Linked DNA regions of Homo sapiens: region 1 is linked to region 2. Evidence: promoter capture Hi-C in human tissues and cell types (Jung and others, 2019). All regions are on one chromosome and are shown on one strand. The core of a region is centred on a gene start or on the middle of the fragment in contact, and the rest is flanking DNA. Distances in the headings are between cores, read along the strand shown.

Region 1 (5,763 bases), core at 2,133-4,632, 450 kb after region 2:
CTTAACAACATTTTTTGGACTACCTCAGCAATTGAGGCTTCCTCGTGACAAAAGCAGAGTCAATTATACATTTGGTCAGCCGGCCAGGCAGCACACAGTACAGGGAGTAGGGACTACGGCCCAGGCAGTGTAAGTGGCACCAGACACATAAAGTCAAAGAAGTCACAGAGAGTGGCTTCTTGGAGTTCATACTTCAGGGGCCAGGACAGGAACACATAAACAAGTCCTTCCAACAGGCGTGCACAAGGCCTAAGAATGAAAAGTGGCCAGACTGCTCTGACAGCCCAGCCAGAAGAGCAACTCGCCTGCCCTTCACCTGTCCCCTCCACTCCCCTAAGCTCCGAGTCTCTGAGAAACAGGAAGTGTAGAAAGCCTTGCCCCATCTCACATCCTTCCTTTCAACCTCTGGGAATGAGTCAAAGAATATCAGTACTCATTCCAAAAGAAACGTATATATATATATATATATACACACACACAAATATATATTTCTCTCTCCATATATATCTGTGTGTGTGTGTATATATGTGTATATATGTATATGTGTGTGTGTGTGTATATATATATATATATATATATATGGAAAGAGAGAGAGAGAACACTCATACCTACTATGCACTAAGAAGTGAGGCACAGTGAACGCAATGGTAAGCCAGTCAGCAGACGTGAGTCCTCATGAACTTGTATTTTAATGATGTTCAGTTTAACCCTAATGGTATCCAAACACACTTGGACTCCTCAACCTAATAATACTTAAAACAAACCAATCCGAACTTATCTATCATATAAGGATTGTCCTTCACCCGGGAATCCATATGTTTATCTATATACCCGAATGTAAAGAGACAAAATAGAGTCATGGTTACAGACCCTGGAGCCGGACAGCATGAGTTCAAGTCCAAGCTTTGCCATTTATTAATTGTTGACCTTGGGCAAGTGCCTGTGCCACAGTTTCCTTATAAAATGGAAATAACAACTGTACCCACCTCATTTAACCATACCCACCTCACTGCTGTAAGAATTAAACTAGTCAGTAACAACTGTATTGCCCTCATTGGGTAACTGTACCCACCTCACTGTTGTAAGAATTAAACTAGTCAGTAACAACTGTACCCACCTCATTGAGTAACTGTACCCACCTCACTGTCGTAAGAATTAAACTAGTCAGTAACAACTGTATCCACCTCATTGATTTGTTGTAAGAATTAAACTAGTCAGTAAATGTAGGAAGTGCTTTTTAAGTATTTGCCATTATTACTTCTGTTAGCCTCAAAACTCTATCATTGTTTTAAAAAAAAAAAACTTTTGGAATTCTGGAATCTGTTTTCCAGTCAATTTATAGCATATGAAAATCTGCTTTACTTCTTTGAAGTCATTTAATTTTGAAGGAAAAAAGATATTCCCCAGTTTGATTCATTGATCCTCTTTGCTATTTACTGAAAGTCTACCATGTCCCAGGAACTCCCTATGTAATTCCCAGGTCTGGCTCACAATGACAAAAGACAACCCATGTCAGGTAAGAACAGTAAAAAACTTTCTCTGGGGCCTTGTGGTCACCCTCCTGGGAAATGATGTGACATCTCCTAAGAGTGCTGGTGCCCCTGACGGGGGCAGGGGAACAGTCTCCAGCCACGGCTTTGGGGTGGGGCACGGACAGATGACCGCGTGTCTGGCAGGTGTGAATCCTGACTGCTCCATCACACTTAGCACAGTGAGCGTGTGGAGACTGTTCTGAGTTCATCAAGAAGGGCCAGATCACACTAAAAAATTTGAACTCAAAAGTGAACCACTAAAGCTTTATGAGCCCATAACACAAAGCTGGAGAGGAAAGCTCGCCACTTCCACTGGGGAAGTGTCTGCTCCAGACCTGGCCAGAGCTGGAAGACAAGCATGAGGGCGGGGTCCCCGTCAGCCTGCTTCATAAGACGGGGCTCAATTAGCTGCACAGAACACTGATGGGCACAGGCCAACAATATTCGTTTTTAATAGTCCAGAAAAGTGCAGAAAAAAGACAATCTGGAAGGTAAAAATGTCCTGCTAACAAAATGACTTCATTCATCAATTCTGAGTGGCAAAGTCACATAGGAAAAGAACTTCTGGCCACCCTGTCCATCCCCTCGACTGGGCTATGGAGAGGAAAAAAAGGCAGAAAGGATGTCAAGGGGAGGAAAGTCCCTCCAAACGCACCACAAGCACTTGAGCTGGAAGTTCGAGTGTGAGGATAAGAGTGCAACGTTCACTTCCATTCAATTGACAGGAGAACTGCATTTCCAACACAACTCTGGCGACCACATTTCAAAGCTAGAACAGTGAGAAAAAAATCCAAGGGGATCATTTGAAAGAAAGGGAAAAAAAAAGACCATTACATGTGCAGGGGTCAGCAGTCCAAATGGCTGCAGAAGCCAAGCAGGTAGCAGAGGTGGGTGAAGACAGACTGTGGGACGACAGGCGTCGCAAGCCTACAGGCCTCCAGTTCAAAACCATAACATAGAAACTCAACAGGGAAGGGAGGCTCTTTGCCATTAAATTGGTAAATAAAAGCCTCTGATATTTTTCTTGGGGAAACAAAGCAGTGCTGCTCAGTTTGAGGCAGCACAGTGCCGATGGGATTGTCACACATTCTCAGGAGTGGGACCAGATAACCCGCTTGGGCCTGGGAAAGGCAAATCTGCTGGGGAGAGAAGACAAAAAGGGCAAAGGTTGAGGAGGCTCATGAGAAGAAGGACTGGAAGTGAGCATGGAATGTGAGCCATCTGGGAACATGGCAAGGGGAACAAGTACCAGATGCCAGGCATGCACTGAGATGGGGAAGGACTGGCCAACGGGCTTCACCTTGTCTCTTCCTCATCTGCAAAATAGGACTAACACCTACTTGCCATATGCAATGAGATGGCACCTGGAAAGCTTCTGACTCCATGCTCAAAAACACGTGAATCCTCCGCCTTTCCCCAACCAGCTGCTACGTCCCACCATCCGGCCCTTCATTCCACATACAAACATTTACTGGCTAAAAGCCAAAAGCAGCCACTGGTGTGATTGTGAACCTTTGGTTTAATAGAAAACAGTGCAGAATCTGAACCGGTTTCTACGATGTACTACACCAAACTCTTCTTCTCAATTGTAGCTTTATACATGAGGAAACACAGGCTTAGAAATAACAGGGAACATGCCCATGATCACACAGCCCACAGCAGAAGAGCTGGGATTTGAACTCAGGCCCTATCTGATGCCAGTGCTAAGGGAAGGTGAAGATGATCCCTGTCGTGCAGAAGCCTGCAGTCAAACTGGAAAATGTGACTACCTCCTATGACGCAAAACAAAGGCATCCCAGGGACAGGAGAGCAGCCTGGGAAGGCTCCCAGCGGCACAGGCCAGCTGAAGTCTCTGAACCTAGACACATCTGGCTGCAAAGAACGGGATGGGATCCCACTGGGAGTGGGTGACAAAGGGGTAGCAGAGAATTTATGCTGAGGCGTCTGAGCTTCACAGCAGAAACAGGACTCAGAAGAAAGATGGTGTCGGGGAAAAAGACTAACATTGATAAGATGGCGACAACACAGAAGACGCTCTGACCAGAAGTCAACCCTCTGAAGTCAGTTCTTTCATCGCACAGCACCTCATTTATTTGGCTTTCCCAGTCAGAGTTCACACTCACTCACTCCGACGCGAAGCTCAGGTTTACCTTGGCTCTATCTACAGAAAAGAAAAAGCTTTGCTAAGCACATCAGCAGAGCAAACATGATCTGTGAGGAGAATATTTAATTTGCTCAGGGGAATAAGCTATTTCAAGCCCCTCTAAGCCATCCAGAGGAGCTGCCATTTACTAACAAACCACTGACATGGTAATTAAAATTATTTCACTCTCTCATCAAGAAAGTCCCCACAAGAGACTGGGCTTCTTCAGGACAGAGACTGGGTCCCTCCCACTAGGATGGAGTATGATCCAGCTGCACACCTACTCATGTAGCTGTTGTGAGGATGAAAGGTCACAGTCACTGCCCAGGAAAGGTCAGCCATCATCTTCTTCTGAGATACCACTAACTGGTTCCATGCCATTCCCCAACTCATTATTCCAGATGATCTGCCAGCCAACCTAGTGACACAGGCAGGAATTCGTTACTCGCAACTGATAAGGAGGGAAACTGAGTCCCAGAGAGAGAAGAAGGGAGTCTGGCCCAACAGCTCTAGGAGGGGCTGAGCCAGGACCTGATTCCCACCCGGCCTCTGGGTTCCCAGGGCAGGGATTCCCTCCCCTGCCCTCTGCTGGGTACTGTTCTAGCCCATATTTCATTGACCCCCTCAATTCTTTCTTAATATTTTATTCGATAAAATATAGATACCGAAAGCCATATAAAACAATTGTATGGCGTAAGGGACTATTAGAAGGCACACACCATGTAACCACCACCAAAAAAAATAAAGACACCGCCATTCACCACATGCCAATGAACAGCCCCCTCCAACTAAAAGTAACAACTACCCTGACTTTTCTGGTTAATTGCTTTGTTCCTCACGTAGGCATCCCTACCCTATAGCCTTGTCCACTTTTTTTCACTTGACGATTCTTCAAAATCGCTCCTACTTTACACCTTCCCCACTACCTCTTTTTCTTACAACTTATCTGCTAGAGAAAACCTGAACTGTTCAGCCTATAGAGTTTCCCACTGGCTAGAAAACTGCACATTCATGCTACAGTTCAATACATGCCTCTGTTCTCTGTATTTCCTGCAATTTGGCAGCTAGATCCGCAGGCTTGATCAATTCAGGGTCGATCCCTTTGGCAAGACTTCAGCAGTGTTGTGCTCTTGTTCTGACATTAGCAGCCCTTGGTATTCAACACTTTCAGCATCAATCTCCCGGGAGTTACTAAGTGGTGACATTCTAATTCTCCCACTGCATTTTCATTTATTAGCTGGAATAATTTTTTTTTTTTTTTTTTTTGAGATGGAGTCTCGCTCTGTTGCCCAGGCTGGGTGCAGTGGCGCAATCTCGGCTCACTGCAAGCTCCACCTCCCGGGTTCACACCATTCTCCTGCCTCAGCCTCCTGAGTAGCTGGGACTACAGGCACCTGCCACCACACCTGGCTAATTTTTTTGTATTTTTAGTAGAGATGGGGTTTCACTGTGTTAACCAGGATGGTCTCGATCTCCTGACCTCATGATCCACCCGCCTCAGCCTCCCAAAGTGCTGGGATTACAGGGGTGAGCCACCACACCCAGCCCTGGAATAATTTTTATAAGATGTTTCATCTAATATTTGGCTTTCCAGTGGCTTAGTACACATAGTAAAATGTTTTATGTTTTCCATTTATTTGCTTAGTTTTCAAAATACTGAATTAGAACTCATGAACTTAAGCTCATTTGATTAGTCTATTGCAATTTTTACCCTTCTTGAAATTCAAACTATCCTATATTTGACCCGAGTCCTTTTAAAATGACCTAGGAATCTTTGATAGCTTCTTCGCTATACGGATGTAGGTAAAGGTGTTCCAGGCTCATCTTATACATTTCCTGCCCCAGAACTGGCATGAGGTTTCTTTTATTGAAAGCTGATACTTCAAGATCAAATCTAGGAGCTAGGGATGTTCACTGCTAATGGTTCGGTCACCTTAGCGAGAACTCTCTCTCTCACATATAAACACATACACACATACATGTACATATGTGTGTATATGCACATGCATATACATACACACACATACATAGACACAAATACCTCAGATTTCATACTGATATTTCCAATTTGATTATTCAAATTCAGGA
Region 2 (5,710 bases), core at 3,168-5,667:
GAATGGCTTGAACCTGGGAGGTGGAGGTTGCAATGAGCCCAGATCATGCCACTGCACACCAGCTTGGGCAACAGAGCAAGACCCTGTCTCAAAAAAAAAAAAAAATTGTATTTCCAGGGGTATAATAAGATTAACGATAGTCAAGATTTTTCAGTTCTTTTTCAGGCTATTGGTTTAAACTCTGAGTGAAGGAGTAACAGGTCTTCATGGATAGTATTTGGTAGGTCGTGGGAAAGCCTTTTGGGTGCATTTCCCAGAAACTAAGAAACTGAATGACCCTAATGACTGGTGACTGAATTGTTTTGCACCTCCAATGTTTTCTAGTTCTTTGCAAACACATTGAAGACTTATTTCAAGTTATCATTAGTAATAGATTTTGTGGATCAATCACTGTGTGATTTTCTGTTTAGAACACAGGATTGGAAAGAATTGTGTGACATTTTCATTACAAAATTATTTCATTTCCCATTTATGTGAACGAGAATTCTCAGCCCAAACATCTATAAACAATAACTAATGAGACTAGAATTGGTGCTGAATCCTGCCTCATTCTGACATTGTCATATCCATCCATGGGTAGGTGAAATGAACACTAACTTAGCACAAACTGTATATCATCTTGATCAAGTGCGTACTAGTGGTAATTGATAATAATTCAAAATCCAGAAAACATTTTTAGCATGTAGGACCCAAAAGACACAGAAAATAGAATACATTAAAAATTTTTGACTTACATAAAACTTTTGCAAAAATGTGCGAGAGGTCAATCAATAAAATGTTTTCCAGCCTCAACATACATGATATTAGGATAAAAGTATGCATGATAAATGGAATGGAAATATTCGCTTCAAAGGGAAAAGAGATGAAAGCAAATATTTTCAATGCTAGAAAAGAGCCTGCGTACATAAGTTTGAAATGGATGAGATATCAAGCTATCATGATAGTTAGATTCCTTTGTGTATATACATTAAAATGTCAATACTTAAAACTTCCTGGCAAGTGGATCATTTGCAGCTATTTAAACTTATATGAAATTTAGATGCTAACCTAGAAATGTATCAAGAAATACATTTTGCAAATTACTTTCGAGAATGCATGAAGAAATGTGTTTGAAGATCACTGTACCACTCTACGAAGAGATTGTAAATTTTGAATGGGATACGGGACCATCTAATATATGCACAGAATGAGTGTGCCAATGGCAATTTGTATATTAACAAGAAATACTAATAAGGCCAGGCGCGGTGGCTCACACCTGTCATCCCAGCACTTTGGGAGGCCAAGGTGGGTGGATCACTTGAGGTCAGGAGTTGGAGACCAGCCTGGCCAGCATGGTGAAACCGCGTCTCTGCTAAAAATACAAAAATTAGCTGGGCATGGGGACGGGTGCCTGTAATCCCAGCTACTTGGGAGGCTGAGGCAGGAGAATCGCTTGAACCTGGGGGGTGGAGGTTACAATGAGCCAAGATTCTGTCACTGCACTCCAGTCTGGGTAACAGCATGAGACCTTGTCTCAAAATAATAATAATAATCAGAGTAGCTGATACCTAGAGTAATTGTCCTATGCCAAGTGCAATTCTCAGCATTTTACTTTAGTCCTCAAACAATGGCACCATGAAGGAGGAACTATAAAGGTCCCTATTTCACAGACGACAGAACTGAGACACAACAACACAGCTCACTGGTGACAAGGCTGGAAACGAGACCTGGCGTTAACCCCTTGGCTGTTTGATTAGTAATTATTCTTATTTTTTAAATAAAAAGTCATTCTGATGGCTTCTTCCAACACACGAATGGGCCCCTGGGCCACCAGGGTGTGGCTGCCCTGCTTTGCAGACCAGTGTTCTGGAGTTCCGGCTCTAAAAATGTGGTGTATGAGTCACCCAGCCTCAGAATCCCTTGGGGTATCTGTTAAAATGCAGGTGTCTGGGCCCTGCCATGGGCCTATAGAATCACAGTCTCTGGCGGATGGCACCAGAGTCTGCATTTTGTCAGCATCTGGGCTGGTTCTGATGTGCTTGAGGTTGCAGGGGGGCTGCTGAACAGGATGCACGCTCGCCTCTGGCACCTGCCCTCTGTCCACCCCGGCCCCGCCCCCTCTGTCCACCCTAGCATGAGCCCTCCGTCCACGTTTGGACACCTTCCTACCTCAGCCTCCATTCCATCTACTTTTGGCAAAAATCTCTTAAGAATCAAAAAACAAGAGTTTTATCCTCTCCGTATCCTCAGCCGGCAAGGTAGATAATTATCCCGTTATACAGATGAGAAAATGAGGATGACTTGCTGATGTCACACAGCTAGAGCAGAGCCTCCGGAGAGGAAACCTGTTGGTATCTTGATTTTAGCCCTGTGAGACCCAAGTTGAACTTCTAACCCAGAGACCTTCTAGCTTTGAGCACTACATTTATGGTCACTTTCTTTTTTTTTCTTTTTGAGATGGATTTTCCTTCTTTTCGCCCCGGCTGGAGTGCAATGGCGCAATCTCGGCTAACTGCAACCTCCGCCTCCCAGGTTCAAGCGATTGTCCCGTTTCAGCCTCCCGAGTACCTGAGATTACAGGCATCTGCCACCACTCCCAGCTAATTTTTGTATTTTCAGTAGACATGAGGTTTCACCATATTGGTCAGGTTGGTCTTGAACTCCTGAACTCAGGTGATCCACCCGCCTCGGCCTCCCAAAGTGCTGGGATTACAGGCGTGAGCCACGGCGCCCAGCCCCTGTGCATCTCTTTTGCCCTATGGCTGACTCTCAATCCTCCCCACCCGGTTGACAGTCATCTCTGCAACTCTCCCTCTTTTCCACTTGCAACTTCCAACCTCCCCAAGTGCTGAGCACTCCAAGTAGTCTTTCTAATCCTCTCCCTGCTTTCTCTTAGCTGTCCATTATGTAGATAAACTTAAATTTTCTGCTTACTTTATGTCACTTCCTACAGCCACAATAGGAAAGTCTGATGCCAACGTTGGCTACTCTCTTCATTACTGGGTTCTATTGACTCGCCTTTAACCGCTGAGCTTCCACTGGGAGTTATGTGCCTGTTTCTGACTTCTTCACTATATGGTGTCTCTAATCTCCATCCTCTGCAGCTTCTACTGCAGGGCCTCTGCCCTGGCTGTTCCCTCTACCTAGAAAGCTCTTCCACCAGATATCTGAATAGCTTACTCCTTCATGCCTTACGGGCTTTTGCTCAAGTATCATCCAATTTAAAGTTAAAATCACCCACCACTGCTGCATGCTCCTAATCCTAGGCATTTTTCCTAGGCATTAATTTTTCCTATGGCATTTACCACTATGTGGCATACTATATATTTTACTATTTACTTGTTTCTTGTAAAATGCATTAGGGAAAGGATATTTATTTTGTTTTTTAAATTTTTATTAATTTTTTTTTTTGAGACAGAGTCTCGCTCTGTCACCTAGACTGGAGTGCAGGGGCGTGATCTCACTGCAACCGTCGCCTCCCAGGTTCGAGAGATTCTCATGACTCGACCTCCCAAGCAGCTGGGATTACAGATGCCCACGATGATGCCCGACTAATTTTTGTATTTTTAGTAGAGATGGGAGTTTCACCATCTCTATCCTATGTGTGATACTGTCCTATCGTGTGATTTCATGTGTCATGTACACTAGATGCCAGATTTGTTAACAGAGGTCGATAGTGCTAAGACTTTCTATTACCGTGTTGCAGTGATGATGAAAAGGAAGAAGTATACCTGTTGTGTGTTCATAAGGGAAATATTTTTAGTGTTTCACAACTAAAATCCCTAAATCAATCTGGAGCAGAAAAAAAATCATCCATTTCTCCAGTTCAGAAAGATGCAGTATTTTGAGCACTTGTTAATGAAATTTCCAGAAACAGAAGGGATTGTTGCCATTTTTCTGATGTCCTGGAGGGTGTAACAAATGAGGAACTTTACCAATCAGCTTCAAGATGAGGAATTTAAGACATTTGGCATCATCACAAGTCACAGGTCATCAGAAAAAGACAGGTTTAGAAGACTCGTTACACACATACTCCCAGATGTGCAGGTTAAATTCCAGAAGCTGAATAATAACTGAAATATTTGTGCAAATGTATATGTCAACTTCCCAGTTCCAAATACCATTCCAGTTTTTAGAACCATAAAGTTCTTCCCAGTTATAAATTTTGCATAATTTAAATATTTTATATTTTCACGATTGTCCTAATTCTTTGACAGTAGGGGTCATTGTCTTAAGTTGTTGACAAGCGCCTCATAACGGGTATTCAAAAATTTCTTTCAAGTAAAATATTTATAAAGTTCACTTTATGCTTATAAACTGCTGCGTTGCCCTAGACCGCCCGCACAAGCCCTTGGAGCACAACTTGGTCAGCGCAGAATTTGGTTCCTATCAGCTTCCGTAGCGTCCCTAACGACTTCCGCCTCTGGCGGGCCGCAGTGGTGGAGGAACTTCCGGCAGCGGCAGCTCAAGTGGCCAAGGCAAGATGGTGAGTGACTAAGGGTTTCTTTCCGCTGGTCGTCGCGGTGCGATGGGGTCTCAGCAGCCTGAGGCGAGAGAAAGAGGCGGCTGCCCGAGGAACTGGGACAGCCCTCTTCTCCTTTTGCCGGCCTGATCTTCTCGGCGGGTGGAGGCTCCCAGAGACCGCGCTCATGTCCACCGCGGGCCGGGGCCGACCAACGGGCCTTGCCCGGGGATCCTGGGGCCGGGGCTCAGAGCAGAGAGAGGGTCTCCTGCGTGGTCTTGTGGGGCGGCAGAACGGATCAGGCCGCTGGCTTTGCTGCTCCGCCGACCAGGGCTTTGCTGATCGGCGCTGGGAGTTTCGGGGGCGCCTCCTCGAGTCACCGGGAAAAATGCTTTTTGAGTCGGGCAGGTGAAGGGTGCTGGAGAAGAGGGTGGGATTCATTCCACCTGAGGAGTTGAGCGCGGAGTCGTGGAAGGCCTTTCGGAGCTGGGGGCATTTGAAGGAGGCCTTAAAGACGTTGTTATGACAGGCGGAGCTAAGACGGAAAGGGCCCGTGGTGCAGTAGTAATAATAAAAACAGCTAGCATTTATTCATCAATTCACTAAACAAGTATTTACTGAGCACTTGGTGTTTTGTTGTTGTTGTTAAACTTTTGGCTAGCTTCTGTTGTAGACACTGAGGATTGATTGAAGTCCCTGCCTTCATAGTGCGTACATTCTAGAGCAGAAGGCAGACAATCATCAGAAATATGTAATATGATGTCAGGGGTGGGGTGGTCATTGTTGTATGGTTATTGTATAGAAAGGGATAGCTTGGAGGAGTGGCTGCTTTTTATAGAGTCAGCGAAGGTAGCTCTGAGGAGGTGAAATTTGAGCGGACCGAAATTGAGGGAGTAACCCCTGCAGATGTCTGAGGGAAATGTGGTCAAGGCAGAAGATACAGCAAGTGCAAAGGACCTGAGATGGGAATGTTTAACCTGTATCATGAACGGCAAGAAGGCCAGATCTCATAGAGGTCTTTTTTATTTTAATTTTAATTTTTATTTTTTTGAGACGGAGTCTTGGTCTGTCGTCCAGGCTGGAGTGCAGTGGCGCGATCTCCGCCTCCCGGGTTCAAGCGATTCTCCTGCCTTAGCCTTCCAAGTAGCTGCGACTATAGGCGCCCGCCACTACGCCCGGCTAATTTTTGTATTTTTGTAGAGACGGCGTTTCACTCTGTTGGCCAGGCTGGTCCTGAACTCCTGACCTTATGATCCGCCCGCCTCGGCC

What was found. Contacts are between HindIII fragments. The study calls those that stand out against the background at their distance.
Region 1: a contact is called between a fragment that was not itself captured here and the fragment with the promoter of PSMC1 in region 2, in 2 of the 25 tissues and cell types used here (pancreas and small bowel).

What each region holds. Positions count from the first base shown.
Region 1 is chr14:90,701,241-90,707,003 of GRCh38, forward strand. The region is part of intron 5 of TTC7B (tetratricopeptide repeat domain 7B); the gene reads right to left. Among named protein-coding and RNA genes, the nearest start is that of TTC7B-AS2, 6.8 kb to the left of the region's middle. The HindIII fragment of the contact is 4,066 bases long and covers 1,350-5,415 here.
Region 2 is chr14:90,252,136-90,257,845 of GRCh38, forward strand. PSMC1 (proteasome 26S subunit, ATPase 1) reads left to right here and starts at 4,418. Exons shown (of 11, transcript NM_002802.3): 1 at 4,418-4,465. The coding sequence starts at 4,463. RefSeq lists enhancers at 4,064-4,593, 4,469-4,708, 4,594-5,121. The HindIII fragment of the contact is 25,675 bases long and covers 1-5,710 here.